Regions from separate parts of the Homo sapiens genome. Here all the other regions are linked to region 4. Evidence: promoter capture Hi-C in 16 types of primary human blood cells and fetal thymus (Javierre and others, 2016). All regions are on one chromosome and are shown on one strand. Each heading gives the region's core, a stretch centred on a gene start or on the middle of the fragment in contact. The rest is flanking DNA. Distances are from core to core; before and after follow the strand shown.

Region 1 (2,700 bases), core at 56-2,555, 550 kb before region 4:
GACAAAAAAAATAAAAGAAGACAGGAAGTCTTCCATTTTAAATTTACTATTTGACAACTATCATTCCCCTATATACAACACCTTTTATTACTGTATCAGTATAGTTTTACGTAACTTACAGTAGCTGAGAAAACCTGGAATCATAAATACAAATTAACTCCCAAAATAGGTATCAAGTTTGGGTCTTCTACCCAAACAACGAGGTATTTTTCAGTTAAAACAAGAAACAGGTTGACAAAAAGACCCAAGCTAACGAAACTGAATAAAAGGCAAGGAGGCAAAGTAGGCATAAACTAAACTATTTATTTACATGTTCCATTGCTTTAAGTCCTCTGATAACCCCCCCCCCTTTTTTTTTTGAGACAGAGTCTCGCTCTGTTGCCCAGGCTGGAGTGCAGTGGCGCGATCTCGGCTCACTGCAAGCTCCGCCTCCCAGGTTCAAGTGATTCTCCTGCCTCAGCCTCCCTAGTAGCTGGGACGACAGGTGCGTCCCACCACGCCCGGCTACTTTTTTGTATTTTTAGTAGATATGGGGTTTCACCGTGTTAGCCAGGAAGTTCTCTGATATTTCTAATGTACAAAAATGACTCACAAATAGAAGATCACTTACCAAAATGAACAGTAGATAAAATGATGTAATTAAAGTTTTGCATTGAAAACAAAAACAAAGTCTAGTACAGACCTGAAAGATGGTCTTTCTTTACAGGAATTTCTGAAACACAATTGACTAAAAATGCTTCTCTATCTCTATTTACTGCAAAATAAAGAGTCAAACTTTTTAAAAATCAAATCTCATTGTCAAGATTTCACCAAGTTGTGGGGAAAATATCCATTTAATTTGAATAAACTTGTACAGTTCCAAGATAAAACATTCTCATGACAAATTTGTGATAAATGGATTTCCTTTAATAGCCAGGAAGGTCTGAAGAGAAAAGGCTTATTTTAAAATAAAATTTGTGATATTATTATTTATAATATGGATTAAAAATAAAACTTTGATTAATTCATATGAACACTATTTTAGAGATATAGTAAAGATGAATAAAAATCAAAAGATAAAATGTTCTGGGATGGATTTAAGATCCACTTTTAAGAACTCAAATTATCCCAGTGTAAAACGTCATGATTTTGATGCCAGAGACTTTAAAGAGCTAGCAAGGGCTGCCCTGCCAGAGGGGAGTTATGAAAGGATAGAAAACCTGATCTTAATCAAAGATCTCAGAGACCTATAAATAGAAACAGGTGTCTAAATCAGAGACAGACAGAGACCCCAAATAAGAACCATCCTTTAGGACACATGCTCGGATCTGGGGATTGTTAAGGGAGCTGAGAAAGTAGCAATTGTTGGAAATGTGCATTAAGAATAGGAAGCATACCTTCATATCATATCCTCACTCTCTGTATTCAGCAGGAAAGTAATTCCCACTGGAGGGCCAGGGGGCCCTTAACTCAAAAAAGAAAAAAGAAAAAACTAAGAGTTGCATACAAGCTGAAATAAAAACATCAGCCCTTCTTTTCCTCTGATTTCTTCTTTTAAAGAGTCAGGGAAAATGATCATCAGTTTTTAAGGCGGAGTTCTTCCAAGATGATGGGAATCACTCATCTGCCATGATCTGGCTTGGGAAAGCATTGTAATTATTGTTATTAAGTGTCTAAGAATCCACAGGGAGATAGGGCATTGTACACAGGACACCAAAAAAGCTATAATCTATCACCACATCCTCCCCTGGAAACCCTGGTGACTTGCAGATTGGAAATAGCTGCATTTTGAGGCTATCCAATGGGAATCGATAATGTAAGAGGGCCTGCTTCCCTCCTGTTCACATGGACTGGAAATCTCCTAAATGTTTTCTGTTATAAATGCTCAAATTTATTAGGTTCAGAACAGACCTGGTAAAATTATCATCGACAATAGCTAACACATGATCCTCTATGTTTCACAAGGGTTGTTAGATCCTCCTCAACTGAATGTTCATTTGCCAATCATGAATTTCTTGAGAGGTTGCAAAAACAAACACAGGGTCACAAATTAAGAGGCTACCACACAGATATGAAGAGCATCAACAAATTAAGATGAAACATTTCTAAAATTATAATGATAACGTGACTATGGTGAAAATGTAATTTAAATTAGAGAAACTCAAACTTTTCTTACCACTCTTCAGCCATCTAACTGAAATCACTTCAATCCCATACAAAGTACTTGGAAGGACTGACTATGTATGTCTTTTGGCTGACAGTTGGATAAACAATCTTAGAGTGTCTATCCTAGTTGTAGCCTGCTGCCTGGTACATAACAGGGGCTCAGAAAAATATCATAGCATTGGTGAAAGAATGAATGAAAAGAAAAGGGCAACCCAGAAACCTGGCAGGTGTACACTTGGAGATTTGGAGAACAGTCTTTCTAGAATCAAGACTCCTCAGGATCATATACATTCTTCCATGTAAAGCCTCATGGTAGAACAGCTCTGCTTCTGTCCTGGAAGGAGTGGCCACCTCTGTTTGCCAGGACGGTCCCCCAAAGGCCTTGCTGTAGCTCCCTAAAGAGCTAAACGCTTTCCTGTTTCAGAGGCGGCACACACATGCTACTCCATCTGCATGTGGGGGAGTCTACCTCTCCCCATTCGTCTCTACTTACTCTCACATCTCAGCTTAAATACAGTTTCCTCAGAGGGGCCTGCCCAAGCCCCTACTGTTCTT
Region 2 (2,700 bases), core at 176-2,675, 570 kb before region 4:
CTTGTATGGGTTAGAGTGTGGGCTCTAAGGACTGACAGTCCTGGGTTGGGTTTGGATCCTGGGTCCATCGGTTACCACCTGGAAATCTCGGGCATGCACTCTGAACGTACCAAACCTGTTTCCTCATCTGTAAAGTGAAGATAAGAAGCTGCTCTACCTCATCAGGTGCGCTGCGGGATGTGGGAGACGTATGTGCAGAGCCGGGCGAGTGCAGGGCAGACGCCCTGAAGCAGCGTAGTGAGTGCAGTAACAGCAGAGGATGGAGAACTGGGGCTCAGAGCTGATGGTAATTCACTCTGCAGACGCAGCGCTGCTACTCGCCAGCTGCATGGCCCTGGACAAGTGATTATTTTCTCATCCTTCAGACAGAACTGAAATCTGTCCCCTCCACCCCACAATGGGGCTGCTACAGAACGAGAGGAGGCAACACATGCAGAAGCATCTGTTAAAGCCTCTGGAATGTGGCAGGTGGTCCATACAGGTTGGGACCATTTCTGCTGTTCCAACTTCACACGACACATTCGGGGCAGCAAGCAAGATTCATACTATTACAGAACTTCTGGTAGAAAATTAAGACCAACAGGGTATTCTGCCAATTAATTAAAATATCTCTTATGAAACAGAATGCTTCTAAAAGCATGATGCTAGCTGAGAAAAACTAATCCCAATACAAAAAAAAAGTTAGATTCACAAAAACGATATATAGGCAGTTAGAAAAATTTAGTGTAGAGATTGATGTAAACCTTATGCCAAAAAGTGAGTTTAATTTTTAATGCTTTTAATTTTTCTTTCATTCTGTCAAAAAGAATAAAGTTACTTTGCTAAAGGTCACAGACAGCTATGAGCAGCAGGATTTCCCACTCATCTGGCTCTCAGTAACATGGTAGCTTCATTTATGAAGAACACTGCTGAGGAAAAACACGTTAAAACTATCTCAAGGTATCACAGTAATGTCATGAAATTTATGTGCAAAAATAGCACATTTTAGCCTTTCTTAAAATAGCACATTTTAGCCTTTCTCTATACCCCAAATCAGACCCCATTTACTTTTAATTTACATATTATTCAATTAAGCTTCATTTTCCTGGTTCCTAAATCCACACAGATCAGAAGAAACATATTATTGTGGGTACAGGGTATAGTCCCAAACAGCAAAGGAAGCCACAAAAGAATTATTAAAAAGCAGTTTCTTAAAATTCCATGTTATTTGGGGTCATTTAGAATAGTATTATACAAATCACCATACTCCTTGTGGCATATATAATATTCACTGTAAAATAATGGCATGAGGTATTCGTATTCAAATCAATTTCAATGTACTCTGCTGAAGAAGACAGAGTTGCATCCAAAAGTGCTTTGAAAAATTACATGTTTTGACACTTAAAGATGTAAACCATATAGCTTCTCTGAAAAACTCCATTATCCAGAAGGGCTCATTTCCACACAGTTCCTCACAACTCAGTAACAAACAGTTCTATTAAACAAAATTTATCCAAAATACTTCTTTTTTATTCTATATTCTAGTGCATTGATCTTAATTCCATTTGGTAAGTTTTCATGAACAATACTAAACATGAAGCATTTCAAGAGGGTTTTAATGAACCTCATATACTCCTCTCCCTCTGCTATTATTTTTTAATGGCATCAGATCAGTCTTGCTACCTGAGGGTCTATTTCTCTATTTCTGCTCCCCAAGGCAACTTAAACACAATTCTAGCTCTTCTGATCATTAAGGAGAGAAAAGATAATTGATGGAAGGGATACTGCCCATTCTTAAAAGCTTTCACTGTACCCATGAACCCAACCCAATTTCTTTATTAACACAGAGCTGTCTAGATAAAACCACCCCAACTATCAGCTTCCTAGTGAGCTATAGCGGACATCTGTCGGGCTGCTGTCCAGCTCTCCTCTCCATTATCCCAACTCCAACACTGTTAGAGCAGTGAGCTCCTGACAGCCATTTTGTACAATGTGACCTTCTCCTCTGGCCACAGCTGATTATAGATTGGGGTGGAAGTTTGACCCAAGTTGGGCTAACCAGAGTCGCTTCTACAGAATTTGAAAGAATTATTGTCTCTTTGGGAGATGATATTGTAACAACATATAGCTTGAGTGCTCTAAACATAAGGCTCAGAGAACTGAGAGAGTCAATCTGGGAAGGGAAGGAGGAAGTGATTTTCAGGGAGGGACAGATGGAAGCAGCAGGGAAAGTGTCTGGACAGCTTTCCAATTTCCAGTTTTCTTTTTGGCCCAACTGCTCTACTGTCCTTGGATTCCACAAGATGCTCCTATATCCTTAAAACACATTTCCCCTTTCTCCTTAAGTGAGCACCATTTGTTTCCGGCACTTGCCATCAAAAGGCTCCCATGAATGCACCTAGGGATCCTGGAACAATGGCCAGGATGTGAAAAACTGCAGTCCACGCATAACTGAGTCTAACCACACTGTCATTATGCTGCCATTGCTATTTAAGACAATGAAACCAAGCCTGAGATTATCTGTAGTCAAGTGTCATCACCTTGTGAATCCTGTACACATTTCCTGTTAGTCTGTGACAGGTGTCACAGGGATTTCTGAACACAAGCATAAAAAGAAGGAAGACACAGGTAGGCCGTCACCTCAGACTGGAGCATTCCCAGAAACGACACATATGGGAGCCTCTCCGGGCCACCACAACCTCCACCTCCTATGCAGCGATC
Region 3 (2,700 bases), core at 12-2,511, 900 kb before region 4:
GGGAGGCTAGGCCTATCTTGCCTCTTCACGTTTTTCTGCCTGCTTTATATTCCCTGTTAGCGGTTTAGGTGGTGCCAACTCAATTAAGGGTGGATCTGCCTTCCCCAGCCCACTGACTCAAATGTTAATCTCCTTGGGTAACAACCTGACAATGATCAATATTGCATCTTTCAATCCAATCAAGTTGACCCTCAGTATTAACCATCACAAGTCCACCCCTTGACAACTTGAACCCATACACATCTCCTGAGATCATTCATAATCTTCAAATAAGACAATAATAAGGTCATAATTATGTCTAACATAACTGAACTGTCCTTTGTACAACTGGAAATGCAGTCCCCAACTCACATACTATTACATAAAGTTAACAATACTTAAATGCTGATATGAAGTCAGTGAATCTCATATCACATGATAAAGGAAAAGGAAATAAAATGAAGATATTTTCTTAGTACAAGTGTATGCATGCACAAACATGTTTTTAACAAAAGAAGGAGGAAATTCTCATGACAATCACAGTCCTCGTTTCTGCAGCTGGTCATGTGCTCATAGCTGGTATTGATGACTACCTTTTTCTACTACCCATTCTGTATTCCCTTTGCCTTCAGCAAGTACCTGAACAGGTGGTGGTTTTTTTTTCCTGGTGGAGTGACCCAAACCTTCATTCCTGAAGGGTCTGGGCCATTTGTAGTCCTGCCTGGATTGGGCTGTTGTAGTTTCCCATTGACCTTAATCACAGGGTAATACTAAGAGACGAACTAATGGATCTCCTGTGTTCCATGTGTACTCTTTCTTACCTCCACTGTGGAGTAGTAGACTGATTGATTTCATCTTGATAGTCTGGGTCAGTCACCCCAGCTAACATTGTAACTCCCTTCTTAGTCTGTTAACTTAGAGGTAGGAGGAGCCCAAAGTGTCCAGGTGGCAATCTTAACTTATAGTTTAATGGAATTGTTTTGTCTCCTGGTGGCAGCGTTTCTCCCTCTGGAACTAAGACCTCTAGACCAGCAGAATGTAATGCCATAGAAACAGGAAGCAAAAATGTTGCTAGTGGATCACTAGGGGTGATGGTGAGTGGTGCCACTTCCACTTCCACCCCTTGATTCCTGGACCCGTGATTCCTGGCTACGGGAGAAACAGTACCATATATTGGATGCTGATTCAGAGCCTACACGGTCTTCTGGAAATCTTTGCCCCAGCCCTGCAAACTATTGTCACCTAGTCGGCATTGTAGTTGTGATTTCAAAAGGTCGTTCCACTGTTCTGTCAACCCGGCTGCTTCAGGATGATGGGGAACATGGTAAGACCAGTGAATTCCATGAGCATGAACCCACTGCCACACTTCTTTAGTGGTAAAGTGAATGCCTTGGTCAGAGGCAAAGCTGTGTGGAATACCATAATGGTGGATAAGGCATTCCGTGAGTCCACGGATGGTAGTCTTGGCAGAAACATTGCATGCAGGATAGGCAAACCCATATCCAGAGTAAATGTCTATTCCAGTGAGGACAAACCTCTGCCCTTTCCATGATGCAAGAGGTCCAATATAATCAACCTGCCACCAGGTAGCTGGCTGATCTCCTGAGGAATGGTGTCATATTGCGGGCTCAGTGTTGGTCTCTGCTGCTGGCAAATTGGGCACTCATTGGTGGCCATAGCCAGGTCAGCCTTCATGAGTGGAAGTCCATGTTGCTGATCCCATGCATAACCTCCATCCCTGCCATCATGGCCACTTTGTTCATGGGCCCATTGGGCAATGACAGGGGTGGCTGGGGAAAGAGGCTGAGTGCTGTTAACAGAATGGTTCATCCTATCCCCTTGATTATTAAAATCCTCCTCCACTGAGGTCACCCGTTGGTGAGCACTCACATGGGATATAAGTATCTTCACAGTTTTTGACCACTCAGAGAGGTCCATCCACATACCTCTTCCCCAAATGTCTTTGTCACCAATTTTCCAATCATGCTTCTTACAAGTCCCTGGCCATTAAGCCAAACCAGTGGCTACAGCCCATGAATCAGTGTATTATTGCACATCTGGCCATTTCTCCTTCCATGCAAAGTGCACAGCCAGGTGCGCTGCTCGAAGTTCCGCCCATTGGGAAGATTTCCCTTCATTGCTGTCCTTCAGGGATGTCCTAGGAAGGGGCTGTAGTGCTGCAGCTATCCACTTTCGGGTGGTGCCTACATATCATGTAGAACCATCTATGAACCAGGCCCTGATTTTCTCTTCCTCTGTCAACTGATCATAGGGAACGCCCCATGAGGCCATCAGTGCAGGCTGGGGGACAGAAGGCAGGGTGGCAGGAATGGGGACCATGGGCATTTGAGCCACTTCCTCATGTAACTTACTTGCGCCTTCAGGACCTGCTCAAGCCCTATGACAAATATACCACTTCCATTTGCTGATGGAATGCTGCTGTGCATGACTCACTTTATGGCCAGATGGGTCAGAAAGCACACAGTTCATGATAGGCAGTTGAGGTCACATAATGACTTGATGACCCATAGTCAAACATTCAGTTTCCACCAAAGCCCAGTAACAGGCCACAAGCTGTCTCTCAAAAGGAGAGTAGTTATCTGGAGAATATGTCAGGGCTTTGCTCCACAATCCTAGAGGCCTCCACTGTGATTCACCTATGAGACCTACCAATGGCCCCAAACAGCCTCTGTATCTGCCACTGCTATCTCAAGCACCATT
Region 4 (2,700 bases), core at 115-2,614:
CTCAATGCCTGGCACAGAGACGAAAAGGATTTCAGAGGACAAAAATCAAAGGACTGGAAAGGAGGGAAGTAGCTGATGACAAGGTCGGGGGAGAAGCAGCTATTTGAGAGTGAGCAGAGGGAAGGATATAACCAGAGCCTTCCATCTGGTGTTGTGACAAAGATGGCAGTGATGTGAGGCTTGATAGAATCAATAGGCCTCACAGTTCAAGACAGACTACATGCCCTCAGTCACTTGCCTGCTTTCTTGGTTTGCTAGATGGATTAGAAATACTAGAAGGAAAGTTGAGTGGGTACTGGGATATCCTATCCAAATCCTCTCTTCTGGGGCAATGCAGCTGCCTCACAGCAACCACGTTGTGGATCACCTGACCCCGCCTTTCTCAGCTTCCTGGAGGTGCATTCTAAGAGCGCTCCCCATAAGCCAACACTCAAGTCTCTTCGAGGTGTGTTTCCAGGGAGCCTGATCTAAGATTAAAAACTTAAAGGCCCCTTTTAGAATTGTCTTTTACAGCCCAGGCAAAGAGTTCTTTACTTTTTTAGAGGTCATGAATCCCTTTGACAAGGTGATGAAAGCCAGGGACCCTCTTCTCAGAAAAATACACACGTGCGCTTAATGTAAAATTTTACATACTGTTTTAAAGGTTAAACTTTACCACCCATGAAAAGCCTCAAGTAGTTCTTTGTACATAATCATAAGATTAGCAACCATTTACTGAGCACTTCCTCTCTATAAGACCCTGTGCTAAGTGCTTTAACTTCATAATGCCTTTGATCATGACATAACATGGCACGGTAGTTCCTAATATCTTCCTTTTAGAGATTTAAGGGCTTGCTCAAAGTAACATAGCTAATAATTAGCAGACACTGGATTAAAATCCCAATTTGTTTGTAAAGCTTGTGCTCTGAATAAATGACAAGGAAAGAGAAGGGAAGGTTGAAGAAGGGAAGGTTCTTGAAGGTCCCTGGTCCTTGAAGGTCCCTTAACCATAAATGTCAAGAGTTGGGATTTAAACCCAGGTCTAACGCCAGAGCTGGCGCCCTTTAGATTAAAAGTGCAGTGTCCATGACAACGAAAGAAGTTGATTTTGTCCCACCTTTGCTCTTTGCGGCTTTTCATTTGCGTTTGTTTCCACAGCGATTTCCAATAGATTTCTGCGTGGCCTTGACACAGACAGCTAGTGTGAATCCCCGCCCACAGAGGGGCGGCACGTTGGTTGCCGTACAACGTGGTGGTTCCCTGCATCTCTGCCCACGTCGGAGAGGTGCGTCGGCTTCCGTACAACACGGATACTCTCTCTCTGACGCAACTTCCTGTCCTGCGCAATTCTATTTGACCTTTGAACTGGCAAAGGCTTTTTTCTTCCTCTTCCGGGGACGTTGTCTGCAGGTATGGATGTTGTTCTCTTTTCCCTGTCTTTATTTCCTTACCAATCGGCTGCCATCCGAGGAGCTGAGGAAGCCTAGAGCTCTCAGAAGCAGTCCTTTGAGCTGGTGTAGGGGTAAGGGGCACAACAGGGAGGTTGGTGGTGAGGAAGTTCCTTACTTTGATCTTTGGAAATCCCTTGTTCCTGGTGGCACCTCCAAAGCCGTGAGTAGCCACAGCTCACCACCCGGGACTTTGCTGCATTCCAAGTGTAGCGTTTGGAGACTAACGAGTTGTGGTTTGGCGGTTTGAGTCTGGAAAATCGCCAAACGTTTTCATATTTTACACCCACGTTTTCACAGCACGCCTGTACGTGTCCTTAGTCTTTGGGAGGGCAGGGTCCGGCGAGTTCGGGTGGTTTCGCTATTTGGCTTCTGCGTCCAAGGCCCATGTCAAGGAAGAGAAAAATGTGTTAGAAGTTTCTGTCTTGCTTTTGGAGATGCAAACAGAATAATGGCTTCATAAATCACTCGCACTGGTTTTACGTGTCAAGTTTTGGTGTCTGGTAATTCTGTTTTAGTTTAATTTTAGTGAGAGGCTTGTGACAACAAATGAGGTGGTTACAAGGGGTGGAATGGGAAGATTAAATTAGTTCAAGTATTGATTATGTTTTACGTTGGGTAGTTCCCTTAACGAAGTTGCTCGTATGCATATCTGTATAACCGATTTGCTAAATAACATCACGATGTTTCCAGAAGTGGGAAGAAAGCAGGTGCCATAACCCAAAGAAACTTGTGTAATATCAAAATTAGTATTAAAGGGTATGCCTTTACGCAGGTGGTGCTTTAGGGCAAGACATTGAACCCTGATATGTGCCAGGCATTGTGTTGGGACGGATAGCCCACGTCGTTTAATCCTAATGACAGCTGTATAAAGTAGACAGAATTCCCATGTTAGAGATAAGGAGGCTAGCTCCTTGCCCTTTATATTCCCAGTAAATGGCATAGCTAAGGATTCGACTTCAGAGCTCACTTTTTGTGCTCTTTGTTTAAAGCGGTGTTTCTCCAACTGGGCTCGTGGCACTTTTCTGGACACCACTCCAAACAAAATTAGACTCTGAGTAAGGAGCCTGGTCATCAGAACGTTAAGGAAGTGCCACGTTTGATTACCATCAGGAAAGCTAACATTCTTGGCCTCTTGTTTATCAGTCACCTTTAAATACAAGTAGTTTTAAAATGTGGAATAATACATCTTAATTTAAGGGTGTTACATACAAGGATATGTATGTGAATGAAATAGACCACATGATACTGTTTTGAGATTTTATTTACTTTT
Region 5 (2,700 bases), core at 201-2,700, 520 kb before region 4:
TAATGGATGAATGGATAGAGAAAATGTGGTATATACCCAATGAAATATTATTCAGCCACAAAACAGAGTGACATCTTTGCATTTGCAACAACATGGATGGAACTGGATGACATTATGTTATGTGAAATAAGCCAGGCACAGAGAAACAAATAACCACATTCTCACTCATTTGTGAGAGCTAAAAATTAAAACAGTTGAACTCACGGAGATACAGAGTAGAATGATGGTTACCAGCAGCTTGGAATGGGGGTTGGGTGAGTGGGGATGGTTAATGAGTGCAAAAATATAGTTAGGATAAGATCTAGTTTTGATAGCTAGCACAACAGCGTGACTATAGTCAACAATAATTTATCGTAAGTTTTAAAATAACTAAAAGAGTGGAATTGGAATGTTCCTAACACAATGAAATGATAGATGCTTGAGGAGATGGATACCCCAATTACCTGGACATGATTACTACACCTTGTATGCCTATATCAAAACATCACATGTACCCCATAAATATACATACCTATTATGTACCCATAATGATTAAAACCTAGACATTTTTTAATATCTGCTGCCTTATTCTGAGAGAAGTATTTTACCAATCCAATCACTGCATAATAACTTATTATGATTAATAAGCTGAAGTGTAGTCAGCTTGATGAAAGTAGTATTTGTGCAGGTCAGTGGAAAATAATGGAAGGTAAACAAATCAATTAAAGTGAGTGAGAAGTCAGGAGCAAAAGCTTTCTCTGTCTACCATCCAGAGAGCTCAGACCGGAGGCGACATGAGGCAACCCCAGGGACTCCAGAACCAGAGAGGGAGGGCACTGTTTGGGGCGGGTTGGTTCAGGGGGGACAAATTCCAGAAAGATTTCCTCAGAACCTCATCAGCCATCAATCCTGAATAGGCTCAACAAGGTTTTCTGGTGCTGGTCTGGGGACATGTTGGTTGAAAAGCCTCTCTCCTCCACTGCCCAGGGATGGCATATTCAGAGGGAGGGACTTCCCACTGCCACCACAGCCACACCTCTCTATTATGCAGTTTAGAGGGTGGAAGGGCTCTCCTTGGCACTCAGAATGTCCAGCAGGAAACAATGAATGGTTGGGCCTGAGAAATGGACTCTAGATCTCCTGTGGCGGGGTTGTGGGGGTGGGGTTCGGCAAGCTACAGTCTGCCCAAGGTCAAGGTCAGAGAAGTCCCACAGTTACCCAGATACGAAGTGCAGATGGTCTGTTTAAATGTTCAGACTGCAAATGGAGGGTGCAAAATTCCATAAGCGAAGCCAACAGACTTAAATCTAATTATTTCATATTCAAAGGGGGGGCTTTCACACTTAAGTTTCTAGGAAAAGCATTTGCCTTATTTTAGTTTAAGTAAAACTGATTCTTTAAGATCAGGTGTGAAGGATTTACAGGACAGTAACAGAAATACTTATGTGTACAATTTTGTCCCACCGAGCCTTCTCTGATTTTAATAAGTGCCATATATATACAGTATTCTCTACTTAAAATTGGGTGTTTTAGTAAGTGAAAAGATAACATTTATGTCTACAGGGGTCCTCATTTTTCTATAGAACTTCTGAAGTGCCTTTCAGAAATCAAATGGGGAAAATACAACAAGTTACTTGGGTTCAGCTACTATCAGTCAGATTGGGACTAAAAGTATGAATAATTGAGAGGTAAAGTTATTGGAAAACTCAAATCATTTTCTATGAACATGTAAATTTGATATTTACACTGTAAGATCAGCATTAAAGCTATTCTATAGCGTTGTAGAGTTGTGCTGTCCAATATGGTAGCCATTAGGCATTAGGTCGAGCCCTTGAAAGGTGGCTAGTCCAAGTTGAGACATGCCATAAGTGTAAAATACATACTAGAATTCAAATACTGTGTGTGAAAATAATGTAAATGATCTCAGTATGTTTATATTGATTACATGCTCAAATAACATTTTTGACATATTATGTTCAATAAATTTATTACTAAAATTAATTTTACCTGTCTTTACCTTTTGATGTAGCTTAAGAAAACATAAAATTACATATATGACTTGCATTTGTGATCTGCACTACATTTCTATCAGGCAGTTCTGCTTACAGTTTAAAAATTTGTAGGTGGGACTGCCCCCTTTCTGTCTCGTACTCCAATTTGACTTAAACAAAAAAATTGGCGTTTTTGAAACAAAGCTTCCTTGTATGGAAAAGAACTCTTATGGGTAAAAAAACTGAAAATCAGAGAAGGTAAGTGGCAGAGCTGGTAATTTAACATTACATTTCAATATCCCATACTGAGAGTCAAGTCTATACACATGTATGTATATATATATGTGTATGTATATATATATATATATGTGTATATGTGTGTGTGTGTATGTGTGTGTGTGTGTATATATATATATATATATATATATATATATATATATATATATATATAAATAATACTTGAAATTATGGGGTACGTGTGCAGAACATGCAGGTTTGTTACATAGGTATACACGTGCCCTGGTGGTTTGCCGCACCCATCAACCTATATCATCTACATTAGGTATTTCTCCAAATGCTAAAGTCAATATATTTAAAACCAAATATTTATATGACAACTAGTACAGAACTATAACCTTTCATTTTATGGTGTAAAAAAAATTACTAAAAGCAGGGTAGAATGATCCTTATGATTAAATTGTGTGTCTTGAAGCAGTTATATGTAACTTCT

What was found. The method cuts DNA at HindIII sites, captures the fragments that hold promoters and counts their contacts. A CHiCAGO score of 5 or more calls a contact.
Region 1: a fragment that was not itself captured here is called in contact with the fragment with the promoter of RPL34 in region 4 in 8 of 17 cell types (fetal thymus, naive CD4 T cells, activated CD4 T cells and 5 more); the score reaches 12.7 in fetal thymus.
Region 2: a contact is called between a fragment that was not itself captured here and the fragment with the promoter of RPL34 in region 4, in 9 of 17 cell types (megakaryocytes, naive CD4 T cells, fetal thymus and 6 more). The highest score is 21.6, in megakaryocytes.
Region 3: a contact is called between a fragment that was not itself captured here and the fragment with the promoter of RPL34 in region 4, in 6 of 17 cell types (total B cells, total CD8 T cells, naive B cells and 3 more). The highest score is 15.6, in total B cells.
Region 5: a fragment that was not itself captured here is called in contact with the fragment with the promoter of RPL34 in region 4 in 7 of 17 cell types (fetal thymus, naive CD4 T cells, naive CD8 T cells and 4 more); the score reaches 13.8 in fetal thymus.

Annotation. Positions count from the first base shown.
Region 1 is chr4:108,073,485-108,076,184 of GRCh38, forward strand. The region is part of intron 8 of LEF1 (lymphoid enhancer binding factor 1); the gene reads right to left. Among named protein-coding and RNA genes, the nearest start is that of HADH, 85 kb to the left of the region's middle. The HindIII fragment of the contact is 8,586 bases long and covers 1-2,700 here.
Region 2 is chr4:108,054,098-108,056,797 of GRCh38, forward strand. The region is part of intron 11 of LEF1 (lymphoid enhancer binding factor 1); the gene reads right to left. Among named protein-coding and RNA genes, the nearest start is that of HADH, 66 kb to the left of the region's middle. RefSeq lists an enhancer at 2,378-2,700. The HindIII fragment of the contact is 706 bases long and covers 1,073-1,778 here.
Region 3 is chr4:107,723,006-107,725,705 of GRCh38, forward strand. No RefSeq gene overlaps it. Among named protein-coding and RNA genes, the nearest start is that of PAPSS1, 4.1 kb to the left of the region's middle. The HindIII fragment of the contact is 4,310 bases long and covers 1-2,700 here.
Region 4 is chr4:108,619,212-108,621,911 of GRCh38, forward strand. RPL34 (ribosomal protein L34) reads left to right here and starts at 1,365. Exons shown (of 5, transcript NM_001319236.2): 1 at 1,365-1,389. It overlaps RPL34-DT (RPL34 divergent transcript), which reads right to left and starts at 1,246. Exons shown (of 4, transcript NR_026968.1): 1 at 1,097-1,246. RefSeq lists enhancers at 903-2,102, 1,328-1,377. The HindIII fragment of the contact is 3,742 bases long and covers 895-2,700 here.
Region 5 is chr4:108,097,198-108,099,897 of GRCh38, forward strand. All of the region lies in intron 3 of LEF1 (lymphoid enhancer binding factor 1), which reads right to left. Among named protein-coding and RNA genes, the nearest start is that of LEF1-AS1, 69 kb to the right of the region's middle. The HindIII fragment of the contact is 1,443 bases long and covers 730-2,172 here.